7 separate regions of the Homo sapiens genome follow, and regions 1, 2, 3, 5, 6 and 7 are each linked to region 4. The links are contacts of gene promoters, found by promoter capture Hi-C in blood cells and fetal thymus (Javierre and others, 2016). All regions are on one chromosome and are shown on one strand. The core of a region is centred on a gene start or on the middle of the fragment in contact, and the rest is flanking DNA. Distances in the headings are between cores, read along the strand shown.

Evidence for each region. Contacts are between HindIII fragments. The CHiCAGO score rates a contact against its expected background, and 5 or more counts as called.
Region 1: a contact is called between a fragment that was not itself captured here and the fragment with the promoter of NAPG in region 4, in 1 of 17 cell types (non-activated CD4 T cells). The highest score is 5.0, in non-activated CD4 T cells.
Region 2: a contact is called between a fragment that was not itself captured here and the fragment with the promoter of NAPG in region 4, in 10 of 17 cell types (fetal thymus, total B cells, naive CD4 T cells and 7 more). The highest score is 13.1, in fetal thymus.
Region 3: a contact is called between a fragment that was not itself captured here and the fragment with the promoter of NAPG in region 4, in 15 of 17 cell types (total B cells, naive B cells, fetal thymus and 12 more). The highest score is 14.9, in total B cells.
Region 5: a contact is called between a fragment that was not itself captured here and the fragment with the promoter of NAPG in region 4, in 1 of 17 cell types (M1 macrophages). The highest score is 5.8, in M1 macrophages.
Region 6: a contact is called between a fragment that was not itself captured here and the fragment with the promoter of NAPG in region 4, in 5 of 17 cell types (naive CD8 T cells, total B cells, non-activated CD4 T cells and 2 more). The highest score is 8.0, in naive CD8 T cells.
Region 7: a contact is called between a fragment that was not itself captured here and the fragment with the promoter of NAPG in region 4, in 1 of 17 cell types (megakaryocytes). The highest score is 7.1, in megakaryocytes.

Annotation. Positions count from the first base shown.
Region 1 is chr18:9,606,576-9,609,275 of GRCh38, forward strand. The region is part of intron 2 of PPP4R1 (protein phosphatase 4 regulatory subunit 1); the gene reads right to left. Among named protein-coding and RNA genes, the nearest start is that of PPP4R1, 6.6 kb to the right of the region's middle. The HindIII fragment of the contact is 2,824 bases long and covers 3-2,700 here.
Region 2 is chr18:9,933,571-9,936,392 of GRCh38, forward strand. VAPA (VAMP associated protein A) reads left to right here. Exons shown (of 6, transcript NM_194434.3): 3 at 2,540-2,643. Among named protein-coding and RNA genes, the nearest start is that of VAPA, 21 kb to the left of the region's middle. The HindIII fragment of the contact is 7,615 bases long and covers 1-2,822 here.
Region 3 is chr18:9,952,927-9,955,626 of GRCh38, forward strand. It overlaps VAPA (VAMP associated protein A), which reads left to right. Exons shown (of 6, transcript NM_194434.3): 6 at 1,127-2,700. The coding sequence ends at 1,285. Among named protein-coding and RNA genes, the nearest start is that of VAPA, 40 kb to the left of the region's middle. The HindIII fragment of the contact is 9,151 bases long and covers 1-2,700 here.
Region 4 is chr18:10,524,608-10,527,398 of GRCh38, forward strand. It overlaps NAPG (NSF attachment protein gamma), which reads left to right and starts at 1,420. Exons shown (of 12, transcript NM_003826.3): 1 at 1,420-1,551. The coding sequence starts at 1,496. RefSeq lists a silencer at 1,563-1,812. The HindIII fragment of the contact is 5,497 bases long and covers 1-2,791 here.
Region 5 is chr18:9,849,623-9,852,404 of GRCh38, forward strand. All of the region lies in intron 6 of RAB31 (RAB31, member RAS oncogene family), which reads left to right. Among named protein-coding and RNA genes, the nearest start is that of TXNDC2, 35 kb to the right of the region's middle. The HindIII fragment of the contact is 2,236 bases long and covers 304-2,539 here.
Region 6 is chr18:9,908,065-9,910,786 of GRCh38, forward strand. No RefSeq gene overlaps it. Among named protein-coding and RNA genes, the nearest start is that of VAPA, 4.6 kb to the right of the region's middle. The HindIII fragment of the contact is 5,806 bases long and covers 1-2,722 here.
Region 7 is chr18:11,149,393-11,152,102 of GRCh38, forward strand. PIEZO2 (piezo type mechanosensitive ion channel component 2) reads right to left here and starts at 177. Exons shown (of 56, transcript NM_001378183.1): 1 at 1-177. RefSeq lists a silencer at 80-529. The HindIII fragment of the contact is 154 bases long and covers 1,218-1,371 here.

The sequences.
Region 1 (2,700 bases), core at 165-2,664, 920 kb before region 4:
AAAGCTTACTAAATCCTTAGAAATGCAAAATTGTCCTATAGCACAACTGAATTTAAGGCAAGAATAATTTGCTGAAGTATACTATATGTATATTCATATATGTATTTATATTTATATATATACACCATATGTATAATGTATTTCTATTTATATAATACAGTAGTGGCATGTTTATCTAGTTTCAAGTTAGTTACCAAGATTATGTATACAAACAGTATTTAACAGAAAGGTAGTATAACAAAGCACTTGCTCTGACATACACTTGTGGATCTCCCAAATATTATAGATATTTGTTCCCTTCAGTGAGTAAAAATTTTCTTTGCACTCTTAACGCAATTACTTTGGTAGTAACCTTTTTTCCCACAGGTAATCCAAATACAAAATTTGAACTAACTCAGGTCCAAATTGCCACCAATCTTAAATAAATGAAGTATTGAATAAATGAGTTATTTCTATCAAAAATGAATTTCATAGATTTAAATATAAAAGTGATCTACATCAGGCTGGGTGCAGTGGCTCACACCTGTAATTCCAGCACTTTGGGAGGCCAAGACAGGTGGATTGCTTGAGCTCAGGAGCTCAAGGCCAGCCTAGACAACATGGCAAAACCCCATCTCTACCAAAAATACAAAAAAATTAGCCAGGCGTGGTGGTGCAGGCCTGTGGTCCCAGCTACTTGGTAAGCTGAGGTGGGAGGATTACTTGAGTCCGGGAAGCAGACGTTGCAGTGAGCCAAGATAGTGCCATTACACTCCAGCCTGGGCAACAGAGCCAGACCCTGTCTCAAAAAAAAAAAAACAAAAACAGAAACATGGATAAATGAAAGTCAAAACCGAGTAGTAGAGACATGATGGTCCATCTGCCTTTGTATATGTCTTAAGTATCTGTAATATATAACGAACTCTCAAAATTTAATAAGAAAATGTCCCAATGAAAAGATGAGCAAAAGATGTGAAAAGGCACTTCACCAAAGGAGATAAGTTAGATGGCAAATGAGCACATAAAAAGAGTAACATAATTAGCCATTAATGCAAATTCAAGCCACAAATTAATACTATTATACATTTAATAAGAGTGGCTAAAATTAAGACTGCTCACACTAAGTGTTGACAATGATGATGAGGACCTGGAACTCTCATACACTTTTGGTGGGAATGGAAAATGATATAACCACTTTGGAAAACAGTTTGGCAGTTTTTCTTTCTTTCTTTTTTTTTTTTTTTTTTTGGATGGAGTTTCGCTCGTTGCCCAGGCTGGAGTGCAATGATGCAATCTCGGCTCACTGCAACCTCTGCCTCCCAGGTTCAAGTGATTCTCCTGCCTCAGCCTCCCGAGTAGCTAGGATTACAGGCATGCACCACCACGCCCAGCTAATTCTTTGTATTTTTAATAGAGACGGGGTTTCACCATGTTGGCCAGGCTGGTCTTGAACTCCTGATCTCGGGTGATCCACCCGCCTCGTTCTCCCAAAGTGCTGGGATTACAGGCATAAGCCACCGCACCGGGCTGGCAGTTTCTTAAAAAGTTAAACAGCCATTCTACTTCTAGATGTATACCCAAGAGAAAGAACATATATATTCACACAGACTTGTGTGTGAATGTTCATAGCAGCTTTATTTGTAACAGCAAAAAAACTGCAGATGATCCAAAAATCCATCAACATTTTAAAGGTAGAAAGCTGAGAAAAAGTTAACTTGCTCAGATTATAAAGAGAATAAATGGCAGGGCCAGAATATTAACTCAGGTCTAAAGGCTTACCAAGCCCAGTGTTCTTTCCCCTACACAAAACTATACTGAGGTATCTTCCAGAATGACTGCATGATAGATGCTCAAATACCAACCACATTCATATCAATAAGGCCAGAAAGTAAGTTAAGTTTGCTCCTTAGTCTAGGGAGATAAGAAGCTAAGATGACTTAAAAGTTAGGAGAGTTAAGAAATGAATGTGGAGGAAGCAGCATTGATGATGTCACCAGCTCAAAGATCTGTGCTAAAAGCAGAGCAAGTTCCAGACCCTCTTATAGAAATTAGAGGGAATACCTCCTCAGCCAAAATTCCATAGGTGTGCCATCCAGACTTCTGCCCAAAACACTAAGTTAGGTTTATTCTCAGCTCCAATTTAAAAACAACAACACAACTCTAATTCAAATTTAGGAACTTTCAAATTCTTTTACTCCAAAATATAAAAAAAAGATGTAATACAAACATAGGAGCAAGGTAACAATAGTTTAATAAACATACATTCATTGTTTTGAGGAGACTGAGAGAAAAGGACCAGAAATAATAAACCAGAGATCAAACAAATGTGGCAGCAGACTTCTGAACTTTACCTCCTGAGGTCTATTTATCTTTCACAGGCAGGAACAAACAAAAAGTATGCATTTAGGTGTCTTGGTTTTTTATTTTTTGGAGGGGGGAGGGCAGTGGATCGTGTAGCTACAGGCCCAAGCATATTTACAAAGGGGTTTTTCTCTCTGTCTCTCTCTCTCTCTCTTTCAATTTTATGTGGGAAGTTGTTAGCAGAGGTATCATTAATTGATCCAACACACATGTGGGTACCACTGAAACCATTTTAAAAGCACTCTTTTCTAAGATATCAATGATATTATCTCTAAATAAAGATCTCTCCATCCAGGCTTGTTGGCAGCAGTCAAAACAGGCTACCAGGTCTCACGACTCACCCTCCCAAATCCCTATTTA
Region 2 (2,822 bases), core at 256-2,755, 590 kb before region 4:
TTTGTTGCCCAGGTAGGAGAGCAGTGGTGTGATCTCAGGTGACTGCAACTTCCGCCTCCTGGATTCAAGTGATTTTCCTGCCTCAGCCACTTGAGTAGCTAGGATTACGGGCGTGTGCCAACATGCCTGGCTCATTTTTGTATTTTTAGTAGAGGCAGGGTTTCACCATGTTGGCCAGGCTGGTCTCGAACTCCTGACCTCAAGTGATCCATCTACCTTAGCCTCCCCAAATGCTGGGATTACAGGCGTGAGCCACTGCGCCTGGCCAGAAGATATAATTATTTCAATCCACATGGCTAAAAATAGTTTATTGGTACAAACAGTTATATCCCTAGGAATCCATACAACTATGCAGAATGACTTTTTCTTTGAGGGGCCTAGATTGCTGGTTTCTGTGTATTAATATTTCTTGAGAAAACAACGTATCAAAACACTTTCTCCCACAGAAACCTGACTTATTAAAACCTTCAGACAAACTGGTTACTGATTACGCAAACATGCCCTTGGATTGTTCTACTTAATTAGAATTTGGCTTTTCCAGTTTTTAGTGTAGTGTATTTCCATTTACAGTCACTCAAAGCTATGCTTCTTCCAACAACCTTCTCTGGTTAATTCTCTGTACTACATGCTCATTTCTCTTTTTCCCTGTGTCCTTTTGACGCTTTGTTTTTTGAATTTGCTTCAATTTGTGCACATTTTTATATATGTTTTCAAGATCGTCTTTGTCTTGTTATGTGGTCTGCAACCTAAATTAGAGTATAACTCCTATAAACTTAACCATGTTGTAAGTTTTCGTTTTATTCACAAATTTTTGGTTCATAGTGATTAGCTTATAATCATTAACTCAGTGAAGGTTGCTAATGGAATTTTATTTAGCTTAAGCTGTATTCTGAGGCATTTTATCCAGTACATTTCCTGCTGCTGTGTATTTGGCCCCTTGAAAAAGTTGTCTTAACCTTGATAGCAGTTAATGGACTTCTCAGACACACCTTATGAATAAGACTTTATTACATAATTATTTCTTACATTTATTTACCCGTGTTTATCTTTTTGAAAGTGTAGAGATATATCTTAGAAATAATCTAAAGTTAGGGAAATAATTTCTATAATGCCATGTACATATTTTGTGTAACTGTTGATTGATTCTTTGTATAGTCTGTTATATTGGACTCATGTTACATAAATTTAGCATGACTTACAACCACATGGAACCTTAGAAAACTTAAAAGACGAGAAATTATAAATGCTTAAAAATTGCTCACGCCTGTAATCCCAGCACTTTGGGAGGCTGAGACGGGCGGATCTTGAGGTCAGGAGATCGAGACCATCCTGGATAACACGGTGAAACCCCGTCTCTACTAAAAATACAAAAAAATTAGCCGGGCATGGTGGCAGGCGCCTGTAGTCCCAGCTACTCGGGAGGCTGAGGCAGGAGAATGGCGTGAACCTGGGAGGCAGAGCTTGCAGTGAGCCGAGATTGTACCGCTGCACTCCAGCCTGGGCGACAGAGCAAGACTCCGTCTCAAAAAAAAAAAAAAAAAAACTTAAAAATTTTGAATGTTATTGAGACTGTAGAATAAATTTTAGAACTCAAGAGGCTATATGGTTTCCTTGTGTACTTTTGTTTTCTTAGAAGATTTAAATAAATTCATAAACTCTGAAATAGATGTTTATTTAAAATACAATTTTGAAAAATTAATTATATTAAAACAATATATGGGCTGGGTGCTGTGGCTTACGCCTGTAATCCTAGCACTTCGGGAGGCTGAGGAGGGCGGATCTCTTGAGCCCAGGAATTCTATACCAGCCTGGGCAAAATGACGAAAACCCTTTCTCTACAAAAAAATACAAAAATTAGCTGGGCATGGTGGCATGTGGCTATAGTCTTAGCTATTTAGGAGCCTGAAGTGGGAGGATTGCCTGAGCCTAGGGAGGTTGAGGCTACAGTGAGCTGAGATTGCGCCACTGCACTGCAGCGCAGCCTCAGCCACAGAGTGAGACCCTGTTTTAAAAAACAAAAAACAGATGGTAGTGAGGTTTTAAGTTACTGAGTATTTCTCCTTTAAATATCTCAGTTGTATAATTTTAAATCAGAAAACACTAAAATGAAGCCTAAATTCATAGTTTTAATAACTTATATTTAATCTGAGCTTATAGGCATTATAGTTAACGTTGGCAAAGTTTTGAAAATTTTCACAAGCTGAGTTTAGAAAGGGCAAAATCATAGATTCATATTTAATTTTTAATTGTAATTGTTTATTTTGTTGGTTGTGCAAAACTTAGTAAATTAGAAAGACAGACAATTTAAAAATACTTGGGATCCATTAAGTTGATTCTTAAACATTCCAGTGTTTGGTTTCTTGAACCCTTCTTGGTTTTTTTTAAATTTGCATATTTGTGAAGTAGTAGGAATGATACTATTGCCAGATACGGTTTAAGGCAAATCCCAGACTTAGTATAATTTAATCTGTAACTGTTTCAATGTATGTCTTTCAGACATGCAGGAGACAATATAATATATCCTTTTTTTCTTATTTAGTAATGCTACAGCCCTTTGACTATGATCCGAATGAAAAGAGTAAACACAAGTTTATGGTACAGACAATTTTTGCTCCACCAAACACTTCAGATATGGAAGCTGTGGTAAGTATAGAAGAAGAATTTGTTTTGGGAAGTGGAGTTTAAACTGTGGGTGTTGTTTAGCAGTCAGTAGAAAAACTTAATTTCTAAAAACTAAAAGTTAAATTTAGGTTTTTAAAAAACTGCCAATTTCTTCATTATAGATAATCCTAACTTAAAGAATGAAAGAATTTTTAAATAGT
Region 3 (2,700 bases), core at 27-2,526, 570 kb before region 4:
AACTGTGCCATTAGGTGTACTCTTTTAGTTAGTGTTTATTTATAAGCACAATAAAGGAATCATGGGAGAAAATATTGCCTTGTACTGAAAAAAGTAAAAAACTGTCCTGCCATTTATCAGATTGGTTAACAGACAGAGATAAAGACAACTGTGTAGTTAACAGGTATTAGTATTTTTCCCAAGGTTCACATTGCACACAGTGTCATAACAACCTCCTGCTTGGAGTGACTTCTGCTTTCTTCTGAGAAACCTTCTGCTCTAAAGACATAGTGCTGTGTGAAGCCATATCAGCAAGAATGAAGCAGCCTACTCTTGACTGGAGGATCTAAGTCATTTTGACACAGAGAAGCACCCTCATTTTCCAGTCCAGGTGCAGAGCTTCAGATAAGGGTTTCCTATGTACATTTCTCATCTAAATTTGTAGTTTCTGAAGAAACAGTATTCTTTCTCTGCTTTGCAGTCGAGACCTGGTGCTACCACTTTACACACAGCCCTCTGCTTTGCTTTGAGCATATAAAAACACTGTTACTTAAATTTCACGCTAAACTGTTTCCTTCCCCCAAATTCTGTGATACCATATCTCTGTTTACGGCAAGAACACCCTTTTGTGCCTCTGCTGTTCCGGTTCCTTAGTTGCAGTGTGTCAGTAAACCCAAATGGCAGACTACAGGTCTGGGTAGTTTTTGGCTGATTGGGCTAGGACGGATGTAACTGATTTTAAATACCATGGGCCACCTTGGAAGTACTCTTCTTTAATTATATTTTTAGTGGGATTTAAAAAAAGGTAAATATAGCCTATCTAACTTTTGCTTTTTAGGAATACATTTCTCAGCTCCAGTTTTAAAAAATCAGTGTTATTGAGGTATAATTTATATCCCATGGAGACACCCACTGTGAGTGTACAATTCATTGATACATAGAACTTTGTAACCATCACTATAGTTCAGTTTTAGAATGTCTATCACCCCCGGAAAGTTTCCTTATGTGGTTAGCAGTTAATCCCCTTTTCCGTCCCCAGCCATAGGCAACCACTAATCTACTTTCCGTCCCTATAGATTTTTAGCTCCAGTAGTCTCGTTAGTATGCTTGTTTTTAAAAACCTTTTGTGTGTGTGTTTTTTTTCTAGGATGAAGGTTTAAGGCTCAGAAAGGTAGCACATTCGGATAAACCTGGATCAACCTCAACTGCATCCTTCAGAGATAATGTCACCAGTCCTCTTCCTTCACTTCTTGTTGTAATTGCAGCCATTTTCATTGGATTCTTTCTAGGGAAATTCATCTTGTAGAGTGAAGCATGCAGAGTGCTGTTTCTTTTTTTTTTTTTCTCTTGACCAGAAAAAGATTTGTTTACCTACCATTTCATTGGTAGTATGGCCCACGGTGACCATTTTTTTGTGTGTACAGCGTCATATAGGCTTTGCCTTTAATGATCTCTTACGGTTAGAAAACACAATAAAAACAAACTGTTCGGCTACTGGACAGGTTGTATATTACCAGATCATCACTAGCAGATGTCAGTTGCACATTGAGTCCTTTATGAAATTCATAAATAAAGAATTGTTCTTTCTTTGTGGTTTTAATAAGAGTTCAAGAATTGTTCAGAGTCTTGTAAATGTTATTTTAATAATCCCTTTAAATTTTATCTGTTGCTGTTACCTCTTGAAATATGATTTATTTAGATTGCTAATCCCACTCATTCAGGAAATGCCAAGAGGTATTCCTTGGGGAAATGGTGCCTCTTACAGTGTAAATTTTTCCTCCTTTACCTTTGCTAATATCATGGCAGAATTTTTCTTATCCCTTGTGAGGCAGTTGTTGACTGAGTTTTTCATCCTTACAATCCTGTCCCATGGTATTTAACATAAAAAAAAATAAAACTGTTAACAGATTCTTGCTCGATAGCTTGTTTGTGTCTGTCGTGTTATTAGAGGGAACTCCACTATATATGGTCACTTGAAATTATGATGCAAAGGTTTCTCTTGCATTGAAACCCTCTTGGATATTACAGTATTTTTAATTGAAAGTCCTAATTCTGTTAAGGAAAGGAGTTGATTAAATTTTAAGGTACCACTGGTATTTTGGGAGATTATAATCAGTTTGTTTTCAAGATAATAGAAAATAAGGTCCATGAGAATAGAAGTTATGTGATTTCAGTGAGTTGATGTGTACAGCATGGCTGTGCTCCATCTGATTTACCCCATTCTTAAGTTCTGAGAGTATGTTCTCAAGGAAGATTTAACTCTCTTTGGTTTTAAATTACTTTTTAACCAGCCTAATAAATAAGTCTTACTACTTTTCATAATATTTCATAATAGTTAAAAGTAGGTGTTTTTTTCGTGCTCAATTTGGCACTCAAAATAATGTTCATTATGGAAGTTTGGTAATACTGAGCAAGCCTGTGGAATTTTCTTTATGAAAAATGATTTTAGCCTTTGCAAATGTTAACCATGTGAAACACATTTTCAGTATAAGTATGCGTTACAGGGTTTGATACTTTCCTGCACTTAGGTTTGTCCTATTCTTCATTTATTCATACTAGGATAGAAAATTTTGGAATCAGAAAATAGATCCAGTGTTTAGCTACATACAATCTAGTACAAGTGAATTTTTATTCTTAAACATAGGTGTGTTGGCTCTTTTTTTAAAAGATGCGCTCTACCTGAAAAGGAAATTGGATTTTAGAACTGGATGTGGTGCAGTG
Region 4 (2,791 bases), core at 170-2,669:
TGTGGGTACTAAATAAGAAAGTGAGGATAGAGAAAAAAATCCAAGGCCAGTTCACCTGTTGGCACTAGAAAAAATGCAAAATATTGATTGGCAAATAGATGCAGGAAGATCGATCGATTGTGTGGTGAGGCCAAAGGGAAGAACTCTTCGAATAGTTATTTCATATTCAACAATAAGTGAGAGTTGGCAGGCAAGCAGAGATTGTGTAGGAGTTTTGAGAAGGAAGGTGTGAACAGCCCTCCAAGTGAGTGGGTGAGTGATTTGACCATGGAAACATAGGAGAGTTGCTCAGCAGCACCAAAGGTCGGCTTAATGTTTATGATCATTAAAATGAGTAATGTTAGCATCCTCGTTTGTTTTTTTCCAGTCAAATTCACTTGCTCAAGAGCAGTTCCAGAGTAGGTGGAGAGCTGGGGTTTTTCCTGGCTTGGAGAAAGGAGGGAGAGGGAGCCAAGGCCGTTGAGAGTATACGCACTAAAATGATGGGACATGAATTTATGCTGGGAAAAGAAGGACGTGTAAGAGCAGAGGGATAGGGAAAGGTGAGGAATCTGGTGAAGGTTAAGTAATTACTAGCACTAGGAGGTATGAGCTGGAATGGAAAGGGGAAGTAAAGTGAGCTGTTTGAAACTGACACTACGGAGGGTACACAGTTATGAGTAAGGTCAAGGGTGTGATCCCAGGAATGTGTGGCTGCGCTAGTGTGGGAAAGATCACAGGAGGTTGGAAGCTGAGAGGCTGTATAGTCATTGCAGGAATCATCCATGTGGATATTGAAATCACCATGAATTATGAATGAAGCCAACTGTATTACTGGTTACTATTTTTACCAGACCACTGTACGCGACTTTAGATCCCTCAACTTCCCATTTAGAGCACTTATCACGGCTTGAAATATTAGAGCGATTATTTGGGTTGGGCGCGGATTATTTGACAGTAATCAGGGTTTACAAGTCTGTTTCGTTTCTTGACTGACATACAATTAATACCCAAAAGGCAGAATGGATAGAAGAATACTATTCTATCTGTCATACAGAGAAACTTCAGATGTAATAAATTATAAAGCCAATTAACCCTACAAACAGGATCCACAGCAGTTTCACATTAATGAAAAAGCAAGACTTCAAGAGGGCGGGAGTTTTTGTCTGCTGATCTTCCCGCATCTAAAATAGTGCCTGACACATATTAGGTGCTTTGCAAATATTGAATGAAAGAATACGCCCCATCAGTATCTCACCGCGCCTGCGCTAGATGCCCTAGGTGGGGCCAGCCTTGACGCGCTGCGCCTGCGCAATGTCTCTTTGCGGGGCGCACCGGCAGGCTCCCAGCCCCGCTTCGTCGCAGCGGCTTGGGCCCTCCGGCCCTCCGTAGCCGCTCGACTGTCGCGCTGCACCAGCTTCCTCCTCGGCGTTCCCACGCCTATTTGGGCGGATTCTTGGCGCCGGAGGAAGAGGCAGGGTCACCCTCTCTCCACGTCAGAGACCTGACTGTGGAGATGGCGGCTCAGAAGATAAACGAGGGGCTGGAACACCTCGCCAAAGCAGAGAAATAGTGAGTGAGAACCTTCCGGGGGCCTGTGTGTAGACGCCGGGTCCGTCTCTCACTGGCGCGGCCTTAGCACCCGGGGGGGGCGGGAGGGAGGGCTCAGGGCTGAGGGGCCTCGGCGCGCTGGTGCCCGCAGGGCTGCCGGGGCTCGGTGTCCTCTGGGTCACACTCCCGGGGTCGGGGTCAGCTCTGCGGCGCCTCGGGAAGCGCCGTGGGTCCACCCCGCCGGAAGTCCGCTCCCCAGAGCCGGTGTGGGCGGGGACTCGGCGCAGTGCTGCGGGGCGAGGGCTTCTCTACTTGGGCGCTCTGCTCCTGAAGATTGTGGTGGGGGCTGTCTGTGCATCGGAGGCTCGTTAGCAGCATCCTTGGCCTCTACCTGCTGGGTGCCGGTCGCATCTCTTCCCCATTTGTGGCAACCCAAAATGTCATCTGGGGAACAACATCGCTCTGTTGAGAACCACCGCCCTAGAAGAGCCCCCTGTGTGGAGGGGACCATAGGTTTACCCCAAAAACTCCTCGGTGAACCTTTGTCATCTGGCATTTTACTGTCCCTGTGGGCAGGGACTGTGCTTCGTTCGTCCTTTGATGTGTATGTCCTGCCACCTCTGGTACAGTACGTAGTAGGCACCCTGCAAATGTTTGTGGGACTGAACTGATAATCCTTAATTCATCCTTTTGGCAGCCTCTTCCCCCCGTTTCATTACTCCAGTGCATTTTTATCTGGCAGTTACAGTTAATAGAAAGTCAGCATTGTGGGCCGGGCGCGGTGGCTCACGTCTGCAATCCCAGCACTTTGGGAGGCCGAGGCGGGCGGATCACAAGGTCAGAAGATCCAGACCATCCTGGCTAACACGGTGAAAACCGTCTCTACTAAAAATACAAAAAATTAGCCGGGCGTGGTGGCGGGCGCCTGTAGTCCCAGCTACTCGGGAGCCTGAGGCAGGAGAATGGCCTGAACCCGGAAGGCAGAGCTTGCAGTGAGCCGAGATCGCGCCACTGCACTCCAGCCTGGGCCACAGAGCGAGACTCCGTCTCAAAAAAAAAAAAAAAAAAGAAAAGAAAAAGTCAGCATTGTGCTCTGTGGTGGGTGCTTCACATACATAATTTCATAAGCTGAGATCTTCACAATAACTTTCCAAATAGAGATTCTAATTTTTCGTAAGAGGAAATGAGACTCAGGGAAGCCTCATAACGACTTGCCCCCAACTGCACAGGTGAAAGATCGCAGAGCCAGTTTTCAAACAGT
Region 5 (2,782 bases), core at 172-2,671, 670 kb before region 4:
TGGTGCTGCGCGGCGAAGGAGTGGACTGTGAGAGGTTACTATGGGGCGAGGGAGTGGCTTTAGATTGGGTGAGGAAGGCCTCCCCGGGGAAATGATTTTAAGCTGGACCTGAAAAACGAGAAAAGGCCAGTGGGCAAAGAGCTATCAGGCAGAGCAAACCGCAGGAGCCAAGTCCCAAGGCAGGAAATGTCGTGGTGCTTTTAAGGAAGAGCAAGGAGTGCTGTGGGAAGTTGTGGTTAGAGACTCAGCAGGGCCTTGCCATGGGAGTAAGGGTGATACTCTGAAACAATTGGAAGCCCCTCAAGCTTTTAAAGCAGGAGTGCAGAGTGTCCAATTTACATTTACAAAAAAAGATCACACTTAAAAGGAGGAAAGTCTCCGCATGTCTCAATCAGTTGGCATGCGATTGTAATAATCCAGGAGAGAAGTGGCTTGGACGAGGGTGGAGGAAGTGGAGCTGGATTTCAGAAATCTTCCAGAAGAACCAATAACACTGGAAGGAGATGGGGAATGAGGAAGACAGCGTTACCAAGAGTCATCCCCAAGTTCTGTTTGCCGGAATGAGGAGGATTGGCATAGGAACAAGTGATCTGGGCTGGATTTGGTTATGAGCCTAGCATATAGGATTCTGGATTGTGGTGAACCCAAGTTTTGGTTTGTAGATTATTATTATTTTTTTATTTTTAGAGATGAGGTCTCGCTGTATTGTCCAGGCTGGTCTTGAACTCCTGGGCTCAAGTGGTCCTCCCGCCTTGGCTTCCCAAAGTGCTGGGATTACAGGTATGTGCCACCATGGCCAGCTGGTTTGTGGATTTTAATTACTTAACTCGAATATCTCTTTAAAAGTATTTTAACTTTTCCTGAGGGCAAAGAGAGGTGGAGCTGCAGGCTCAGCAGAAAAATGTCTGGATTGGGGTGGAACCCAGCAAAATAGCTATGCATTTTGCTCCAGTTAATTTAAGTGTTGACTGTGGCAGAGAAAGCAGGACTTTCTCCTGAAAATTACACTTGGAGACACTAGAGACATTAGACCAGGTTTTATATTTGTTGTTAGTTTGAGAGCAAGGTGAGAAACATTTGTTTTATTAAGGTGAATATATGGGCATGGCGGTGTGCACCTGTAGTCCCAGCTACTCTGGAGACTGAGGCAGGAGGATCACTTGGGCCCAGGAGTTTGAGGCTGCAGTGAGCTATGACTGTGCCACCGCCCTGCAGCCTGGGCAACAGAACGAGATCCTATCTCTAAAATAAATAAATAAATAAATAAATAAGGTAAATATATTTAGAGGTACAAGCATATTGGCTTGGAAAATTGGAATGGGGTGTTAATATGAAAGACAACAAGTTAAGACTTGTGGGTAGTGATCATGTCTTGTTCTGGAAACATTTGTTCACAGAGTGTTGTGCTCTAGGCACCTTTAGTTAGTAGCAGGTTAAAGTAATTTTAAAGCAAAGCAAAAGGTTTGCAGATTTTATAATAGTCAGCAAGCTGTCAGGTGAAGGTAAGTTTAGCAGTTAAGGAACAAGGAAAGGACAAAGACAAAGTTTGTCCACTTTCTCACCCCAAAAAAAGTTAATTTACCAAATGCAATCCACTTAAGAAAGTGGACAGACTTTCTTACACCAAGAAAGTTAATTTAGTGAATGTAAAATAATGTCATTTCGGCATATGGGCAAGTTGGGTCTCAAAAGGCATGTCTTTTATTCCAGCAATTCTAAAGAAGAAATTCTTCAGGTGTGCAAACATAATAACAAGGTTTAATATGTACGGAGCTCTGATTCTGTGCTTTTGTTGCAATTGCTGAAATATATACTTAGCTCATTAATGCACCCTTGATCCTGTGAAGTAGGCTCTGTTATCATCCCTGTTTTACAGATGAGGAAATTGAGGCCTGGAGAGGCTTGTAACTTTCCCCAGGGCACACAGCTAATAAGTGAGAGACAGGCAGGCAGGCTCCGGGGCACATGCTCTTAGCTTGTCTATATCATGTCCCATTGCACAGCGTGGTTTATTGTAACATTATTCATGACAGCAGAAAACAGGAAATTACTGAACTGTCCAAAAGTTAGGAAATAGTTTTTAAGAAATCATGGTACACCCATATAAACAAGTGATTCAAAAGGATGACATAAATCTTTGTTTACTGACATAAAAAGATCAATCATTGAATGTGAAATGGAAGTTACAGAGCAGTTCATATAATATCCTTATTTCACAATATATCTCATATTTCATAATATTTCATAATCTATTTCAATATCATATTTCATATATTTCATAATATATTTCAATATCATATTTCATAATATATTTCAATATCATATTTCATATATTTCATAATATATTTCAATATATATAATGATAAATATTATTCCAAGAATATATCCTTCTTGGAAGGATACATATCAAAATGTTAACAGTGGTTGTTTCATGATGGTCAGATTCCAGGGAACTTAAAAAACACTTTATTATGTAAAATTTCAAACATATACACAAGTGCACTGAATAATATAGTGAACCATTGTATACTCAAAACCAAGCTTGTGCCATCTCTATCCCATCCTGTGCTCACCACCTGTATTATTTTGAAGAGAATCTCAGACATCTAATTTAATCTATAAATATTTTGTCCATAATTTTTTTAAACAATGACAACTATGTTATCATATTAATAACCAGAATGCTGTTATCATATTAATTACTATCATCAAATAAACAGTCAGTGGTCAAATTTCCAAAAAGTTCATAGTTGTCATAAATGGTTTCTTTGTTTGCATGTTA
Region 6 (2,722 bases), core at 143-2,642, 620 kb before region 4:
ATGAGAATGTACCCTGTACAGATTGAATTATTCTGACTGAAGGTTTACATAATTTATGGTGACACTTGGCTTCTGTCTTAATGATGTCACAAAAGAAAATGTAGAATCAGGGACCAGACATTGTTTACTACACTGCTGAACAGCTCTGGGATTTATATACTCATTTCCAAAAGTACACAGTTACTAAGTCTTCTTGGTGGGCACAATCTAATTTCAGCTTAATGCATTTTTTCTTAAATTGAACCATGCTGATAAGATTGATGTATGATAAGCCACACCTGATAATTGCCCTTTACATGTAAGTCTAGAAACTTCAAGAACGATCCATACACATTTAATTAAATCTATGACTTGTATCTGAATTGTGATTTCATTTCCATTATTTAGCTTTACAATTCTTCAAAATCCACAATTCTATTGATCTTTGACCAGATTACAAATAGGAACAATGAGAGTTGCCGTGGCCATGGGCTCAGTTTGTTTGTCCCATTTGTGTATGATCGCCTTCCCCTGCGGGGAACTGGGCAAGGGGCAAGCCTGGTGGTTCAGTCCTCTGGAGTCCTGATGCTTGTTGGGCTTTTTCTTTTTGCCAGCATGCTCTGGCACTGGCAAACAAGTCATTTAGAGGGAGCTGAGGAGAGATCAACAGAATCTGAGAAAAGTAGGCAATGTGTGAGTTTTCCAAGGGTTCAAGAATTTTTATCACAGCTATAAGGTCAAGTACAATGTTGTGAGCCACTAAGGTGGATACATTAAGTCTCCAGGGTTTTCTCATTCCAAAAAAGAGCCTAGATGCAAAGGAGTGGCTTCCGCAATACAGTAAGGCAACCCTGGAGGAAGTCCGAATGGGGACAACTGAGCCATCCATAGTAATAACCATGGCCTCCTTTCCTACTTACCTCTCTGGCCACTTTTCTTCCACCCAAGCTAACTCATTCTACTTAATGAGATATTTGAAAGTTGCAGTTTCCCAAGAAGGAGTATGAGGTTCTGGTCATTTCTCTGTCTGTATTAGGTGACCTCCTACATGCCCGTGACCATTCATGCTCAAGACTTGGAGGTTCAGTTTTCAGCACAGAGCTGCTGCTCCTGAGTTCCCACCAGAACACTCTATTGCTTATTTAACATTTCCTCATGAATGTCTCAAAGGCATCTTACATCAAACTGGCTTAGTGATCTTTCCTTCCCTGCACCCCAACATCAGAATCTGGTCCTCTGTCTCTGTGACTAGTACCATCATTCATTCACCTGCACACACCGGAAGAAGGGGAGTGATTCCTCACTCTCTTACTTTCTCTTACCACCCCTGTATCTAATCAATAGCTGATTGGTTATTGATTCTACCACCTAAATATCTCTCAAATCTGTTCGTATTTATTTGCTCCATCTCCACTGTGTCTACCTTAGCCCAAACTGTCATTCTCTGCAATACCATCCTCTGTAATATCATCCTCTGTCTTCTGAATTATAGCACTAATCTAAACAGTTCTCCCCATATTCCCTCTTACTCCCCCTAATCCAATCACCACATTGTAGTCAAGAGAACTTTTAAGAATTGCTCATATGACTCTATTGTTTAAACCCTTTGATGGTTTCCTATTTTCTTATGATAAAGACTCAAATCCTTAATATGGCCTGAAACAATCTGCATAATCTGGCTTTTCAGCCTCATCTCCTGCTACTCACTACCCACTTTATTTACCATAACACATCAGCCTTTCTTCTACAATTTGCAATGAGCCACGCTCATGTCAGTCTGGCCTTTGCATATTCTGTTCTCCTTTCCTGGGTATCCAGATATCCTTCAGGAGATACTTCTTATTACTCCCTGAAGGAGATAATCTCCAAACCCTCAACTCAGTTCCCACAGGTTACTCTCCCAGTACCCTAGACCTCTCGTTCCTAGTGTTTACCACAATTCAAATGAAATAATTGTATAGTTATTTCACTTTTGTCTCTCACTCTTGAATGTAAGCCTATAAGGGTAGGGACCATGTCTATCAGCTCATGACTAATCACCAGTACCTGCCACAGTGCTGGGCACACAGCAGTAATTTAACATTTAATATTAATAAGGTAACAGTGCTGGAATCAGGCACTATTATAAGCTCTTCATGTGTAGGAACTCATTGAATCCTGGTAACAAACCCAGAATGTAGGTATTCTTCTTCTTCTCATTTTACAGATGTAAAACAGGCACAGAGAGGTGGAGTGAGCTGCAAAGATCACACAGTGGAAAATGGAACTTGAACCTAGCAGTCTAGATTCAAAGCCTGTATTTTACTTTACTGCCTCAATATTTATGGAAAGCATGCCTGTTTAAATGTTCACTGAAGTCAATAACTCAGAGAATTGCTCATAAACAAATTCATAATTATAGAGCACCTCTACTGTAAAGTTTAACATGTTTAACTATGGAGAAGTAGAGGGGTATAAGTACTTTGATACTATCCGTACTGAAAACAAAAAAAAATCTTTGCCAAGTCCATAAGAGAGAACTTGTCCAAAGGTGAATACTATTAGTGATTCAAATAGGTTGAAATAATATTCAAAGCCTTTGTACTTCTTAGACTCATGAAAATTTGGTTGCTTGATATGCTGGAGTGTATATATTTGCTAATACTTTAAGGCCTTTCTGTGCTGCATTAGCCAATCTAAAAAGAGCAAACAAAATGAACATAGGTCACATGGTTCATTATTCCTAGCTTAAATGTTAAACAAT
Region 7 (2,710 bases), core at 45-2,544, 620 kb after region 4:
AGAGCGCATATCGGGTGAGTGGGTCTCCCACTCCCTCCTCCACCGCCTCAATTTAAAACTCAAGAGAAAAACCAGCGCCGTCCCGTCGCCCAGCGCGACCACCGCCTGCCGCCTTGCAGCCTCGCCCTCGCGGCGCAGCCGGGGCTCCCCGGCGGCGCGCGCTTCTCCACCTTCAATGAAACTTTCGAAGCCCTCACTCGGGGACGGGCGTGTCCCCCGGCCAATGGGATGGCGGCTCCGGGGCCTGCGCGCGCGGAGCCCGCCCCTGAGCGGCTGGGGAAGTGAGAGCCTTGCACCGGCGCGGAGGGCAAGCCCCCACCCGCGGCTCCCGCGCCTGGGAGAGACCCGGCCTGGCCTGCCAGTGGGCTGCGCGCCTTGGCTCGCCCTCCGCGGGCACTCCTGCCCCACTGGCTCCCGCAGCCCCGCGGCTCTGCGTGGTTCTGTCATTCCGGTGGTGCACCCTGGCATCCAGTCCACCCGGCCGGGCCCTGAGCTTGCCCAAACCCAGGGAACCGTTTAAGGTCCGAGGGAAACGCACAGGCCCGGCAGGAGAGAAGCCAGGGGCTTGGAGAGTCCTGTGCGACCCCGACTTCTGCTGGGTCCACAGGTGCACACTGGCATTAAGAAGAATAGAGCTGAATTCATCTACACCGTTGACCCTGCCCATATTTCACATAGCAAGAACTTGCCATTCTGAATAGACTCTGGGAAATCCCGGGTCTTCCCCAACAGATAATGCACCCACTTTGTGCATTTGGGGGAACTCTCCGTTTTCACCTCAGTTTTGCTCCTTGCTTGTCGTGGCTCTGGGGAAAGAGAGCGTTGGCACTGAGAATATTCTCCCTTTCTCCTAGTGCACTGCTTTTTGCCTGTTCTAGGCAAGATCTAGAGAAATCTGGCTCTAGCTGGGAGACTGCAGTGTGCCTGGGTCTTTTATTTAACTGTTATCCGAGAGTGGAGGAGATTTGCTAGAGCACAGTAGGGGTCTTTCCGGACATGGAGGAAGAGGCTGTTAGCATCTGTAGAGAGGACTGTTCAGGACTGGCATTCCATCAGGAGGACACACTGGGAAGGACCTGGCTTCCCTTCCGCACCTACATTCCTGGCTTGCATTAGTTGGAGGGGATAGAGCAGTGAGCTGATGAAAAACAGGCAAACCCCCGTCTTTTTAGCCATTTGAAACGCTTTTGTGGACATCCCTTTTTTGAGACAGGGTAAGCTTGTGGTTTGAGCTCAGGTGCCTTCACGAATTCTCTGAGAATTACAGAAAAACTATGAACCATTGCTTTTTGAATGAAGACTCAAGACAGTTGGCATATGGTGAAGACACCCTGAAACTTAAACCACCCATGTGCTCTGCCATCCTCAAGAAGCTTAGATAGCACCTAAACCCGGGCGTAGTCATGAGCTCAACAGCAGACCTACAGGAGACGATAGAACTTAAATTAGCATCCAGTCACCAAGAAATGCTATCAAGAAATGGTTTGTGTAGCCTGTTTGTAGAAGCCTGATATAAATCTACCACTAATTTTGATGTTCATAAGTCTGCCTTCACATCCATGCCCTCCCCACCTCACCCCATGTACGACTCATTCTTGGGAGCTAATAGGTGAAGGACTCCTGAATTTTAAATAATACTGTGTCATCACATGAATTCTGTATTCTCTGAATACTTTCTTATGTTCTTGATAGGCTTCCCATACTAACAACTGTCTAGACTTTTTCACAATAATTCTCTTTCAAAATAACATAAGCTGGGAGGCACAAGATTCCCAGCAGGTGGGTGGTCTTACCAAATAAACTTCGAGCTTTCTCTGCCACAGTGTGTACCAACTTGGCTGCTGGGGCGTTAGAGATTTTAACAACTACATCCCAGTTCTGAGACTTCCAACGTATGTACTCAAGGGGAAGTTTCAGCGGTCTAGACTACATCTGAAATAGGCTTCTCCATGCTGGCTACATGTTGCAGTCACCTGGGGAGCTTTTGAAAAACGCTCAGTCTCCACACTCCCTGAAATCCTGATTTAATTGGTCTGCGATGGGGCCCCCACACCTGTATTTTTCTTAAAGCTCTCAAGTGATTCTTAAGTATGCAGTCAGGGGTGAAGACCGCTGTCCTCATTTTCATATCAGACTCAGAAAATAGTCCATTGGCTTTCAAAACCAGCATCTCCAAACCTCATCCACCTTTCTGAAGCTGTATTTTCTTTCACAATGGACTTGACTTGAGCATACATATCCATAGCAGTGGCATTGTTTTTACAAGGGCTGTTTAACCCTCAATTTTCCCTGCTCTCATAGAAGCAGTATCTGGTGTCTAGACAGGTTAGTTTTTAAGGACTCACCAGCCCATGAGGGTATTGATCACTGTTCGGGAGCTCTGCTTGCCTGGCAAACTTTATTCCAAAGTTTGCCAGAATCTTGTCTAAAATTTGAAAGAGTATGTGAGTTTAAAAATGCTTTGGGGAGAAATCAAACATGTAAAATACTCATGGACATATTATTTTGATATTTCATGGGTACCTGATGTGTATAATCACCAGTTTACCCCGGTAATGAATTAAGCACCAGACACCCTATGCCTCTCTGCATCCACAATGACAAACAATGACTTCTTTTGATCATTATTGAGACTTTTAGTGCCTCAGCTTCTTCATCTGTAAGTTAAGGAAAGCAGTAAAACCTACCCAATATGGAGTCTACACAGATA